4 separate regions of the Homo sapiens genome follow, and regions 1, 2 and 3 are each linked to region 4. The links are contacts of gene promoters, found by promoter capture Hi-C in blood cells and fetal thymus (Javierre and others, 2016). All regions are on one chromosome and are shown on one strand. Each heading gives the region's core, a stretch centred on a gene start or on the middle of the fragment in contact. The rest is flanking DNA. Distances are from core to core; before and after follow the strand shown.

What was found. Contacts are between HindIII fragments. The CHiCAGO score rates a contact against its expected background, and 5 or more counts as called.
Region 1: a contact is called between a fragment that was not itself captured here and the fragment with the promoter of GGN in region 4, in 2 of 17 cell types (neutrophils and non-activated CD4 T cells). The highest score is 6.2, in neutrophils.
Region 2: a contact is called between a fragment that was not itself captured here and the fragment with the promoter of GGN in region 4, in 10 of 17 cell types (monocytes, M2 macrophages, activated CD4 T cells and 7 more). The highest score is 7.7, in monocytes.
Region 3: a contact is called between the fragment with the promoter of DPF1 here and the fragment with the promoter of GGN in region 4, in 1 of 17 cell types (megakaryocytes). The highest score is 5.6, in megakaryocytes.

The regions. Positions count from the first base shown.
Region 1 is chr19:38,589,461-38,592,656 of GRCh38, reverse strand. The region is part of intron 30 of MAP4K1 (mitogen-activated protein kinase kinase kinase kinase 1); the gene reads left to right. Among named protein-coding and RNA genes, the nearest start is that of MAP4K1-AS1, 5.3 kb to the left of the region's middle. The HindIII fragment of the contact is 6,157 bases long and covers 1-3,196 here.
Region 2 is chr19:38,539,826-38,542,868 of GRCh38, reverse strand. All of the region lies in intron 84 of RYR1 (ryanodine receptor 1), which reads right to left. Among named protein-coding and RNA genes, the nearest start is that of MAP4K1-AS1, 55 kb to the left of the region's middle. The HindIII fragment of the contact is 8,158 bases long and covers 1-3,043 here.
Region 3 is chr19:38,222,972-38,225,988 of GRCh38, reverse strand. DPF1 (double PHD fingers 1) reads left to right here and starts at 1,767. Exons shown (of 12, transcript NM_001135155.3): 1 at 1,767-1,875. The coding sequence starts at 1,847. RefSeq lists a silencer at 1,433-2,002. The HindIII fragment of the contact is 14,724 bases long and covers 1-3,017 here.
Region 4 is chr19:38,386,402-38,389,661 of GRCh38, reverse strand. GGN (gametogenetin) reads left to right here and starts at 1,628. Exons shown (of 4, transcript NM_152657.4): 1 at 1,628-1,687; 2 at 1,840-1,901; 3 at 2,382-3,260. The coding sequence starts at 2,401. It overlaps SPRED3 (sprouty related EVH1 domain containing 3), which reads right to left and starts at 965. Exons shown (of 6, transcript NM_001394336.1): 1 at 855-965. RefSeq lists silencers at 1-133, 1,593-1,832. The HindIII fragment of the contact is 15,577 bases long and covers 1-3,198 here.

The sequences.
Region 1 (3,196 bases), core at 368-2,867, 200 kb before region 4:
CATGAGCCACTGCACCTGGCCAATCCTTTTATTTTTTAATTTTAATTCTTTTATTTATAAAATTTTTTTAAAATTTATTTTTGACACAGAGTCTCGCTGTGTTGCCCAGGCTGGAGTGCAGTGGCACAATCTCAGCTCACTGCAACCTCTGCCTCCCAGGTTCAAGTGATTCTCATGCTTCAGCCTCCCAAGTAGCTGGGTTTACAGGTGTGTACCACCACATTTGGCTATTTTTTGTATTTTTAGTAGAGACGGGGTTTCGCCTTGTTAGCCAGGCTGGTCTCAAACTACTGACCTCAGGTGATCCAGCTGCCTTGGCCTCCCAAAGTTCTGGGATTACAGGAGTGAGCCACTGCACCTGGCCTTAATTTTATTTCATTTTTGAGACAAGGTCTCATTCTGTTGCGCAGGCTGAAGTGCAGTGTTACACACACAGCTCACTGCAGTCTTGACCTTCTGAGCTCAACTGATCCTCCCACCTCAGCCTCCCAAGTAGCTAGGTCCACAGGCATACACCACCACAACTGGCTAATTTTTAAAATTTTTTTGTAGAGACGGGGTCTTGCCATGTTGCCCTGGCTGTCCTTGAACTGCTGGCCTCAAGCAATCTTCCTACCTTGGCCTCCCAAAATGTTAGGATTACTGGCATGAGCCACCACACCTGGCTGCATTTTTTTTTTTTTTTTGAGACGGATTCTTGCTCTGTTGCCCAGCCTGGAATGCGGTGGCGTGATTTCAGCTCACCACAACCTCCACCCACTGGGTTCACGCGATTCTCCTGCCTCAGCCTCCCGAGTAACTGGGATTACAGGCATGTGCCACTGTGCCCGGCTAATTTTTGTATTTTTAGTAGAGACAGGCTTTCGCCATGTTGTCCAGGCTGCTCTTGAACCCCTGATCTCAGGTGATCTGCCCGCCTCGGCCTCCCAAAGTGCTGGGACTACAGGCATGAGCCACCGTGCCCAGCCCTGGCTGCATTTTTATTTTAGATTTTTATCTTATTAAAAATTTTTAACTATTAAAAATAACTATTTTAACTATTTTGACATAATTTAAAACTCACACTCCCAGAGAAGTTGCAAAAATCCCTTTTATCCAGATTAACCAGATCTTTTTTTTTTTTTTTTTTTGAGATGGAGTCTTGCTGTGTGGCCCAGGCTGGAGTGCAGTGGATCTCCACTCACTGCAACCTCTGCCTCCCGGGTTCAGGCAAGTCTCCTGTCTCAACCTCCTGAGTAGCTGGGACTACAGTTGCACACCACCACGCCCAGCTAATTTTTTTGTTTTTTTAGTAGATGTGGGCTTTCATCATGGTGGTTAGGCTGGTCTCGAACTCTTGACCTCAGGTGATCCACCCACCTCTGCCTCCCAAAGTGCTGGGATTACAGGCGTGAGCCACTGTACCTGGCCAGATGTTAATCTTTTTAACCGCATTTGCCTTATTATTCTTTTTTTTTTCTTTTCTTGAGACAGAGTTTCGCTCTTGTTGCCCAGGCTGGAGTGCAATGGCATAATCTCAGCTCACCACAACCTCCCACTCCTGGGTTCAAGCACTCCTCCTGCCTCAGCCTCCCGAGTAGCTGGGATTACAGGCATGTGCCACCATGCCCGGCCTCTTCTCTTTCTTATGCGCACACACCACACATACAAGTATATGTGTGTGTGTGTGTGTGTGTGTGTGTGTGTGTGTGATTTTTTAATGAATATTTGGGAATGAATTGCAGACGTGATGCCCATTTACCCCTAAAATACTTCAGTGTATGTTTCCTGAATCAAAGCAAGGACATAATGTTACAAACCACAGCACAGCTGTCAAAATCAAGAAAACAACACTGAAACATCACAACCTTCTAATTCATACCCCTACTCAATTTCACCAGTTGGCCAGGTGTGGTGGCTCACGCCTGTCATCCCAGCACTTTGGGAGGCTGAAGTGGGCAGATTACCTGAGGTCAGGAGTTGGAGATGGGCCTGGCCAACATGGAGAAACCCCACCTCTAGTAAAAATACAAAAATTAGCTGGGTGTGGTGGCACGTGCCTGTAATCCCAGCTGGGAGGCTGAGGCAGGAGAATCACTTGAATCGGAGAGGTGGAGGTTGCAGTGAGCCGAGATTACGCCACTGCACTCCAGCCTGGGTGACAGAGCGAGACTCTGTCTCAGAAAACAACAACAACAACAACAAAAAATTTCACCCGTTGTCCTAGTGACGCCCGTGATTATATATATATATATATATATATATATATATATATATATATATTTTTTTTTTTTTTTTTTTTTTCTGGTCCAAGATCATAGGTGGCACTTAGGAGCCATGTTTCTTTATAATTAAGCCGGAAAAAATAATTAAAACTTCTTTTGTCTTAAAGGAGCTTTGACCTTTTTAAAAATTAAAGGAAATTTGTTTTCTAAAATGTCCCTTAACTGTGTTTGAGGTTTCCACGTTCTGAATTTTGGGCAGGAATACTGCAGAAAGATGTCTTTCTCAGTGCATCATTTCAGGAAGTACACAATGCTAGTTTGTCCCATTACTGGTGATATTAACTTCGGTCATTTGGTTAAGGTAGAATCAGCCAGTTCTCTCCACTGTGAAGTTGCTTTTTTCTCCCTTTTTCTTTTTTTTTAAAGATAGATTCTCTCTCTGTCACCCTGGCTGGAGTGCAGTGACGCGATCATGGCTCACTGCAGCCTCGACCTCCTGGGTTCAATCAGTCCTCCCACCTCAACCTCCCGGGTAGCTGGGATGACAGGCGCGTACCACTACACCTGGCTTATTTTCGTATTTTTTGTACAGACAGGGTTTCGCCATGTTACTTAGCCTGGTCTGGAACTCCTGGACTCAAGAGATTCACCTGTGTAGGCTTCCCAAAGTGCTGGGCTTATAGGCAGGGGTCACCGCACCCAGCCTCTGTTTTTCTTTGTAATAAGAAGTATCCCACCGGTCGGGCGCGGTGGCTCACGCCTGTAATCCCAGCACTTTGGGAGGCCGAGGCAGGTGGATCACCTGAGGTCGGGAGTTTGAGACCAGCCTGACCAATGTGGAGAAACCCTGTCTCTACTAAAAATACAAAATTAGCCGGGCATGGTGTTGCATGCCTGTAATCCCAGCTACTCGGGAGGCTGAGGCAGGAGAAGCGCTTGAACCCGGGAGGCGGAGGTTGCAGTGAGCCGAGATCGCGCCATTGCACTCCAGC
Region 2 (3,043 bases), core at 538-3,037, 150 kb before region 4:
ACCCCGTCTCAAAAATAAATAAATAAATAAATAAATAATTTTAAAATAGGCTGGGAGCGGTGGCTCACACCTGTAATCCCAGCACTTTGGGAGGCCCAGGTGGGTGGATCACTTGAGGTCAGGAGTTTGAGACCAGCCTGGCCAACATGGTGAAATCCCGTCTCTACTAAAAAAAATACAAAATTAGCCAGGTGTGGTGGCATGTGCCTGTAATCCCAGCTACCTGGGAGGCTGAGGCAGGAGAATTGCTTGAACCCGGAAGGCAGAGGTTGCAGTGAGCCTAGATCATGCCACTGCACTCCAGCTTGGGCAACAAGAGTGAAACTCCGTCTCAAAAAATAAATAAATATAAAAAAATAAAATATAAATATTATTGAGGGCCTGCTATGTGTCAAATGTGGTGGAGCGTCATTTATTCATTCAGTTTTTTCCAACAAATTTGTATATTGACCACCAACTATGTAGCAGGGAGAAATAGAGATTCAGTTCCTCGTTAGTTTCCAAACAATTTTATCAAATTCCTCCTATGTGCTGGGGATATTCATGCATTTATCCAACAAATATTTATTGAGCACCTACTAAAGGCCAGGGAACATATGGATTGGTCACTTGTTCATTTATTCAACATATTTTATTGAGTGTATACTACATCCTCACGAGATTAAGATTGTCACATCCTCTTTGCTACAACAAATTTGTTGCGTTCTTACTATGTGTCATGCAGTATTCTAGGCTCTGGGGATACAGTAGTAAAAAAAAAAAAAACAGTCCCCGGCCTTGGGGGGGATTTTTTTTTTTTTTTGACAAGGTCTCCCTCTGTTGCCTAGGTTGGAGTACTGTGGCATGATCATAGCTCACTGCAGCCTTGACCTCCTGGGTTCAAGTGGTCCTCCCACCTCAGCCTCCCAGGTAGCTGGAACTATAGGTGTGAGCCACCACATCCGGCCAATTTTTAATTTTTTTGTTGAGACCAGCCCAGGCTGGTCTCGAACTCCTGGCCTCAAGCAACCCTCCTACCTTGACCTCCCATAGTGCTGGGATTACAGACATGAGCCGTATGTCCAGCCCCTGCCCTTGTGAAGTTTATATTCTTGTGCAGTAATTTTTTAATCTTTTCTGACTGCAATCTATGGTAGGAAATCCTTTTTTTTTTGAGATACAGTCTTGCTCTGTCACCCAGGCTGGAGTGCAGTGGCATGATCTCAGTTCACTGCAAACTCTGCCTCCCAGGTTCAAGCAATTCTCCTGCCTCAGCCTCCTGAGTAGCTGGGATTACAGGCATGCGCCACCACGCCCGGCTAATTTTTTTGCATTTTTAGTAGAGACAGGGTTTCACCATATTGGACAGGCTGGTCTCCAACTCCTGACCTTGTGATCCACCTGCCTCGGCCTCCCAAAGTGCTGGGATTACAGGTGTAAGCCACCACACCCAGCCGAGGAAATCCTTTTTACATTGAGACCTGATACATGTGTTCAATCTGAAATTATATTCACCTATTCCCGAAAGAGAAGTTTCACATTGCCTTACTCTGTGCCATGCATTCTGTTCTTTTCTGTCCTGTACTGCTCTAGTTAACTACAAAAGAAGAAGTGTGTGCTTCTCATCCTCTCAACCTTGGCTGCACATCAGGACAACTAGGAGGCTTTTAAAAACCCCAGTGCTCAGGCCCAACCCCAGATCAATTGAATTAGAACCTGTAAAGGCAAAACCTGGGCTTAAGTCTCTTTTAAAGCTCCCCAGGCATGCCAGTGTACAATTACAATGAGAACCTCTGCGTGAAACTGATTCATGAACGTCTGTCTGATGGGTTGGTTCCCACTATTTAAAAAACATTGTTCTGTGAAAGCAAACTGTTAAAGCTGAGTGATGGGTAGTTGGGGGTTTATTATACTGTAATATATGATTGGAGGTTTATTACACTGTAGTATATGATTGGAGGTTTATTACACTGTAGTATATGATTGGAGGTTTATTACACTGTAGTATATGATTGGAGGTTTATTACACTGTAGTATATGATTGGAGGTTTATTACACTGTAGTATATGATTGGAGGTTTATTACACTTTAGTATATGATTGGAGGTTTATTACACTGTAGTATATGATTGGAGGTTTATTACACTGTAGTATATGATTGGAGGTTTATTACACTGTAGTATATGATTGGAGGTTTATTACACTGTAGTATATGATTGGAGGTTTATTACACTGTAGTATATGATTGGAGGTTTATTACACTGTAGTATATGATTGGAGGTTTATTACACTGTAGTATATGATTGGAGATTTATTACACTGTAGTATATGATTGGAGGTTTATTACACTGTAGTATATGATTGGAGGTTTATTACACTGTAGTATATGATTGGAGGTTTATTATACTGTAGTATATGATTGGAGGTTTATTATACTGTAGTATATGATTGGAGGTTTATTATACTGTAGTATATGATTGGAGGTTTATTATACTGTAGTATATGATTGGAGGTTTATTATACTGTAGTATATGATTGGAGGTTTATTATACTGTAGTATATGATTTTTTTTTTTTTTGGTAGAGACAGGGTCTCCTTATGTTGCCCAGACTTGTCTTGAACTGCTGGGCTCAAGTGATCCTCCTGCCTCAGCCTCCTAAAGTGCTGGGATTACAGGCATGAGCCACAGTGCCCAGCCAAGTCCTTTTAAATGTTTATAGCAACATCATGTTGCACAGGAAGGTTTTAACAGCCCCTGAAAGTATTTTTGCCCCCCGTTTTTCTTTCCCCTTAACTTTTTTACAGTCAGTTCACAATTGCTCTATCAGGTTGGCTCAACAGAAGGCCCATTTTGCCTAGTTTCATGACATAGACAAAGCATACTCAAATATTCAAAATTTTATAAGCAAAGGTACAGGTTTTCCCATCAACCCTGCTTTCTAACTCCTTTATTTGTGTTAATTTAAATTGTTAAATTAAATTGTGTTAATTTAAATTGGGCTATATGCAAAAATAAAAGATACACAGCTCCTGTAAAAAAAATTCTGGCAACTGACAACACCTGT
Region 3 (3,017 bases), core at 518-3,017, 160 kb after region 4:
TAATAAAAGCATCCCGGGGTGAACTGTGCCCAGCACATGATGGGTGCATTTACTCATTCAACAAATATCTACTGAGCATCTATTTTTTTTTTTTTTTTTGGAGACAGGGTCTTGCTCAGTTGTCCAGGCTGGAGTGTAGTGGTGTGATCATAGCTCACTGCAGCTTCGATCTCCTGGGTTCAACCAATCCTCCTGACTCAGCCTCCTGAGTAGCTGGGACCATAGGCATGTGCCACCATGCCCAGCTATTTATTTTTTTTTTAGTAGAGACCAGGTCTCGCTATGTTGCCCAGGCTGTTCTCCTGAGCTCAAGCGGTCCTCTCATCTCAGCCTCCCAGATTGCTGGGATTACAGGCATGAGTCACGGCGCCCTGCTTACTTAGTTTTTTGTTTGTTTGTTTGTTTGTTTGTTTGCTTTTAGAGACAGAGTCTCGCTCTGCCACCCAGGCTGGAGTGCAGTGGTGAGACCACAGCTCACTGCAGCCTCAGCCTCCCAGGTTCAAGCTATCCTCCCACTTTAGCCTTGCAAGTAGCTGGGACTACACTGCTGCGCCATCATGCCCAGCTAATTTTAATTTTTTTTTGTAGACACAGGGGTCTGGATATGTTGCCCAGGTTGGTCTCAAACTCCTGGGCTCAAGCAGTGCTCTCATCTAGGCCTCCCGAAGTACTGGGATTGCAGACTGGAGCCATCGCACCTGGCCGCATTATTCTTTCTTTCTTATTATTTATTTATTTATTTTTGAGAGGGAGTCTCACTCTTGTTGCCCAGGCTGGAGTGCAATGGCACGATCTCAGCTCACTGCAACCTCCACCTCCTGAGTTCAAGTGATTCTCCTGCCTCAGCCTCCTGAGTGGGGGAGTATAAGCATGCGCCACCATGCCCGGCTAATTTTGTATTTTTAGTAGAGACTACTACCATGTTGGCCAGGCTGGTCTCGAACTCCCATCCTCAGGTGATCCACCTGCCTGGGCCTCCCAAAGTGCCGGGATTACAGGTGTGAGCCACTGCGCCTGGCCTGCCAGTCACCTCTTAAAATGCTTTACCTATATTTACTCATTTAATCCTCACAACACTCCAGTGAGGCATCATCCTCTTTTTACAGATGAGGAAACTGAGGCCCAGAAAGGTTAAGTCATTTGCCAAGGTCACATGGCCACCAAGTGGCAGAGCTAGGATTTGAACCCTGGAGGTGTGACTACTGTTTCTAACCTGCACTGCTGCTGTCAGGCCTGCAGAAGGCGTTGAGCAGGGCGGGGTGACCGTGAGCGTGGCTGCTGGGAGAGACAGCCCCGGGTGGGGTCTCTGGAGCCAGGAGGGACTTGGGTGGGGGGCGGTGAGGGGGTGTCTGCTGGAAGCATGTTGGTGAGAAGTCTGTGTGGGCACCTGGGAGGTGTCTCTGCGTCTCTTAGTATTGCAGTGTGTGTGCGTGTGGCTGTGTGAGTCCGTGCGAAGGTGTGTGAGTAGGAGTGTGTGGGAGGCTGTGAGTATCCGCGTGAATGTGTGTGTAAACTGCCATGCGTGGGCGTGTGCGAGTCCAGGTGTGCATGTGGTTGTGTGCACGCGAGAGCAGGATATGTGGACGAGTGAGGGCGGGTGAGTGACGGTGCGTGCCCCGGGCCCCTCCTCCGCGCCGTCCCGTCCCCGCGGGGTCCCGGGGGCCCCCTGGCCTGGGACTACCACTCCCAGCATGGCCCGGGCGGGCCCGCCCCGTCGCCGCGATTGGCCGTGGCCCTCGTGCTCCCGCCCCCCGGGAATGAATGGATGGGCGGCCTCAGCGCCCGCCCGACCGCTGGGAGGACCGACCCGGCGGGGACCTGCTGGGGGCAGGACCCGGGGAGCAAGATGGCCACTGTCATCCCTGGCCCCCTGAGGTGGTGCGGGCCGGCGGGAGGCGGAGAGGAAGCGCGGGCGGGTCTACGCGGGCCTGTGTGTGTGTGGCGACCGGGGGTGGGGCCGAAGGGGTGTCTGGGGGGCTGTCACCGAGTGCGGGGCTGCGCGGGGGTGCGAGAGTGTGTGACTGTGGGTCTCTGACAAGAATGGTGTCGGATGCACCGCTCCCTGGCGGGGTGGAGGGCGTGGGGGGCCTCCAGATTCTTTTTGGGGAAGGGAGACATCATCCCTTCCCTGCAACCCTCGGGTCTGGGAGAGACTGAAATGACCCGGGGGTGCGGGGGCCTTGGCAACTGGAGTGAAGTCCACACTACCTTTGTCTTGGGATGTGGAGTGTGTGTGTGTATCACTTATTTGTGTTCTGGTTTTTTTAAGAATTTTTGGGGGATAGGTGTGTGGACATGTGTCTGTTTCCTTTTATTCTGCACTAGATATCTTTGGATATTTGGGTCTCCCAGTGTGTGTCCGTGTCCTTTGGAACTATATGTCATTTGTCTTGTGTTCTGTGTTTTTGGGTATGTAGGGCTGCGTGTATTTGTGTGTAAATTTTTGTGTGACTATGGGTGGATTTGGCTGTTTCTGTGTTTTATATGTGTGTGTGTCTGTGTGGATGTGTGATATTTTAGATACTGGTTGCGCATCGTGCATCTTTGTAAATGTGTGTGTGTACCTGTGTGAATCTGTGTGATTTCTTTGTGTTGTGTGTCTGGATATTGTGTGTGTGGTTTGTGTTGTGTCTTTGGATACATGGGTAAGTGCCTAGGGGCGCAAGTGGTTTCTGTAGTTCCTGTCTTTTGACATGCTTGTGTCTTTGGATGCATGAGGGGGTGTATGTGTGTGTGGTGTGATGTTTCCATGTTGTGTGTCTTTGTGTGGGTGATGTGTTTCTGGTGTGTGTCTGTGGATATGTGATGTGTCTTTGTGCATGGTTATTTGTGTGATTTGTCTCCACACTATGGAACTTGGGATATTTGTCTTTTTCAGTAGATATTTATGTGTGCACGTGTGTGAGGTTTGTCTGTTTCTCCTTTGTGAGTATTGGGATTTGTCTCTCTTTGTGTGTGAATCCCGTGTGACTGTGTGTGATTTGTGTTGTGTGTCTGCATGTGTTCAGGTAGGGATA
Region 4 (3,260 bases), core at 379-2,878:
AGACGGAGGCAGAGGAAGTCAGAAACGGGCGACCGAAGACACATCCAGAGAGCATTTCATTCACAAAAATCAAGGCTGCTCCCCCAGGCCCCAGCCGAGGGAAGCCAGGGGGGAAAGATGGGATGGGGGGGCAGATTGATCCTTCCTCCCTCTTCCCTTCCCGCCCCCCAGCCCCAGCATCCTTCAGAACCATTTTACCCCGCCCCCCAGCTCAGAGGACGTAGCCCTCCGCCCAGTAATCGGGATCAGTGTCCAGCCCTTCACTGCCATCCAGCACAGGGACCCTGGCGTCCCAACCTTAGGGACCCGGACGAGCTCTAGCCCCCTCCCCCACCTGCAGGCTGCTGGGTTTCCCGGGCCCTTCAGGAGGGGAAGGGGCGGCTGCAGCGCCCCCAGCCCCCTTTTCTCAATGGGATGGGATTTTGTGAATGAGCAGTCACGTGACGCTGCTTCCTTTGTCCGCCCGCCTCCCCCGACAACAGGTGAAGCAGGGAATGAGAGCAGGGGTCCCCCCAGGGCCTAGCTGGAATGGGGCACTGGCATTTCAGGGTGGCCTACGCTCCCCACACATCCTGTGTCCCCCGGGGGGAGTGGTCCTCAGCGTTCCTCAACGGTGAGGGTCCAGGACGGAATTTTGTGAATGGGGCATCCTCGGAGAAAGTCCAGACCCCACAAATGAAGACTGGTACCCTGAATGGCTGCCGCGCAGTTTGGGGGGTCCCCACTCTCTAGTCCTCCTAGCCGGGGCCTTGGGGGCGCCTGGGTGGGCAGAAGGCGCAGCGCGGTCACGGCCGCCCCCTCATCGGGGCAGGCAGTCTGTCAGCCCCCGCCCCCTCGCCCCCCTCGGCACCTGCCTGCGAGGCTCCGGCCGGGCTCCGAGCGGCGGCGACGCGGCCTCCTCCTCCTCCTTTTCGTTCCGGCTCCCTGGCTGGCTCCGGCGGCGCTGGAGACGGGCACCGGGAGCCGGGGCGAGGGGGGAGGGAGGGGGAACCTGGAAGACGGGTGGGGGGGGAAGGGGCGGCTTGGGGGAGGGGTAAGAGCGAGGCGGGCTTACTTGCCTGCTGGGTCCTAGAGCCCGGCACTAGCTCCAGAGAGCAACCCCCCAGCCCCCATTTTCTTAAGATCCAGAGGGGATCCCCCACTTTTCCACCCATCTGCGCCATTGGTCTCTAATGCTATGAGGAGGGGACGGGGCAGGGACAGGGACTGGTCTCAAGGTTCTAAAGAGGTGGTGGTCTACGCTGTGGCTTGGGTGCCTGGCAGAGTTCGATAAGGGGTGGGGCGAGAGGGGAGCCTTCACAAGTGGGTGGGGTTGGAGGGCCTGGGTATAAGGAGGTTTGGATGCTGCAGGCGAGGACTAGTGCGTGCGTCACGAAGGGGCGGGCCCACGGTGGATGGGCCTTCTCGGCGCCCGGGGGGAAGGAGAGGGTCTTGAGAAGCGATGTTGCCGGGTCTTAAAAAGGCGGAGCTTAGAGGTAAATTGCCTTAGGGGCGGGGCAGATGAGAGGTCCAAAGGGGAGGAGCGACGCATCGGTGTTCGCGTGGGCGGGGCCTCGGGAGGGAATGAGAGGGGCGGGACATTCTAAAGGGGAGGGGCTAAGGAGAACAACCCAAAGGGGTGGAGCTTAGAACCAGAAGGCCTGGGGGCGAGGAACAAGACCTCGGAGTATTTCAAGGGGAGACCTAGGTTCGTAAGGGGCCGGGCTCCCGCGGGCTCGCAGGAGGGCGGGGCCTCGAGCTCCGGGGGCGGGGCCTACATCTCGGGGTCCGCCCTAGTTGTCTCGCCCACTTGCCTTCACCCGCACCCCCGTTCTTTTCGGTTATTTTCTGCTACGGCAGTTCCCTGCCCTGCCCCGGGCCCAGGGCGCCGCGGTCTGAACTCTGCTCGGCTGGAGGACTCGGTGAGTGGGTTCCTCTGGGGGGAGGCGGGGCCAGGGCGGAGCTTGGGGACAGGGGTGGAGCTTGACTGTGGATGCCAGCTAGTAGACCTGGAGCGGGAAGAGGTTTAGGGGTGAGGCCTGAGGATCTGCCCCTGCCTGGGAAGAGGGCGGGACCCAGGTGCTCTAGAGAGAGGCGGGGAGTCGGAGAGTTAGAGGAGAGGACTGAGGGATCAGCATGACCAGCCAAGGGGACAGGCATGGAACCTTAGTACATAATGGGGCTGGTAGTGAAGTATCTTAACAGCAGCTGTGTTGGGGACATGGGCAAGAAGGCGTGAGTGTCGAAGGTCGGGGAACAGGAGTGCGACCTAAGGACTTGGGCCTGATCGGATCTTGGAGAACAGGGGCGGGGCCGGTGCGGACGCATTAGATCAAGTACAGCCAGCCTCGTAGGGTCCCCACGGCCCTGGCAGGCTGACTGGAGTAAATTTTTCTGACTAGTCTCCGAGCTCCGTCAGAAATGGGGAACTTGCAGTCGGAGCCATCCGCGGGCGGGGGCTCCCGAAAAGTGCAGCCCTCGGACCGCGCCCCCGACTCCCGCCGGACGTCCCTGGTGGAGCCCGAGATGACCTCCCAGGCCATGCGCCTGACTCGTGGGCTGGGTGTCTGGTTCCCTGGCAGCGCCACACCCCCGGGACTCATGGTACCCCGGGAGCCCCAGGCCTCACCCTCGACCCTGCCCCTCACCTTAGAACGGCCCTCTCCAGTGATGCCCCCTCCTGAAGAGGCGGCCGCGGTCTCTGCACCACCCCCGGCCCCCGCGGGGACTCTGCTGCCCGGCCCGTCTAAATGGCAAAAGCCCGCGGGCACTCCAGTTCCCCGGATCCGCCGCCTGCTGGAGGCGAGCCATCGCGGCCAGGGCGACCCTCCGAGCCTCCGCCCGCTGAAGCCGCCGCCGCCGCCCCGGCAACTATCCGTGAAGGACACTGTCCCGAGGGCCCCATCCCAATTTCCGCCGCCCCTGGAGACTTGGAAGCCGCCACCACCATTACCTTCTGAACGGCAGCCGGCGGACCGCAGAATCACTCCTGCTCTGGCCACACCCGCCTCACCCCCGACAGAAAGCCAGGCTGGGCCCCGCAACCAGGGCCAGACGGCCGGCAGGGCTCGCGGAGGGGCGCCTCCCCATGCGGGCGAAGGCGAAATGGCCCAGCCTGCGGATTCCGAGTCCGGTCTGAGCCTGCTGTGTAAAATCACCTTCAAGTCGAGGCCCTCTTTGGCCCCTCCGGCAGCCTCGAGTTCCTTAGCAGCCAAAGCTTCGCTGGGGGGCGGCGGAGGCGGCGGCCTCTTTGCTGCCTCAGGTGCCATCTCTTACGCCGA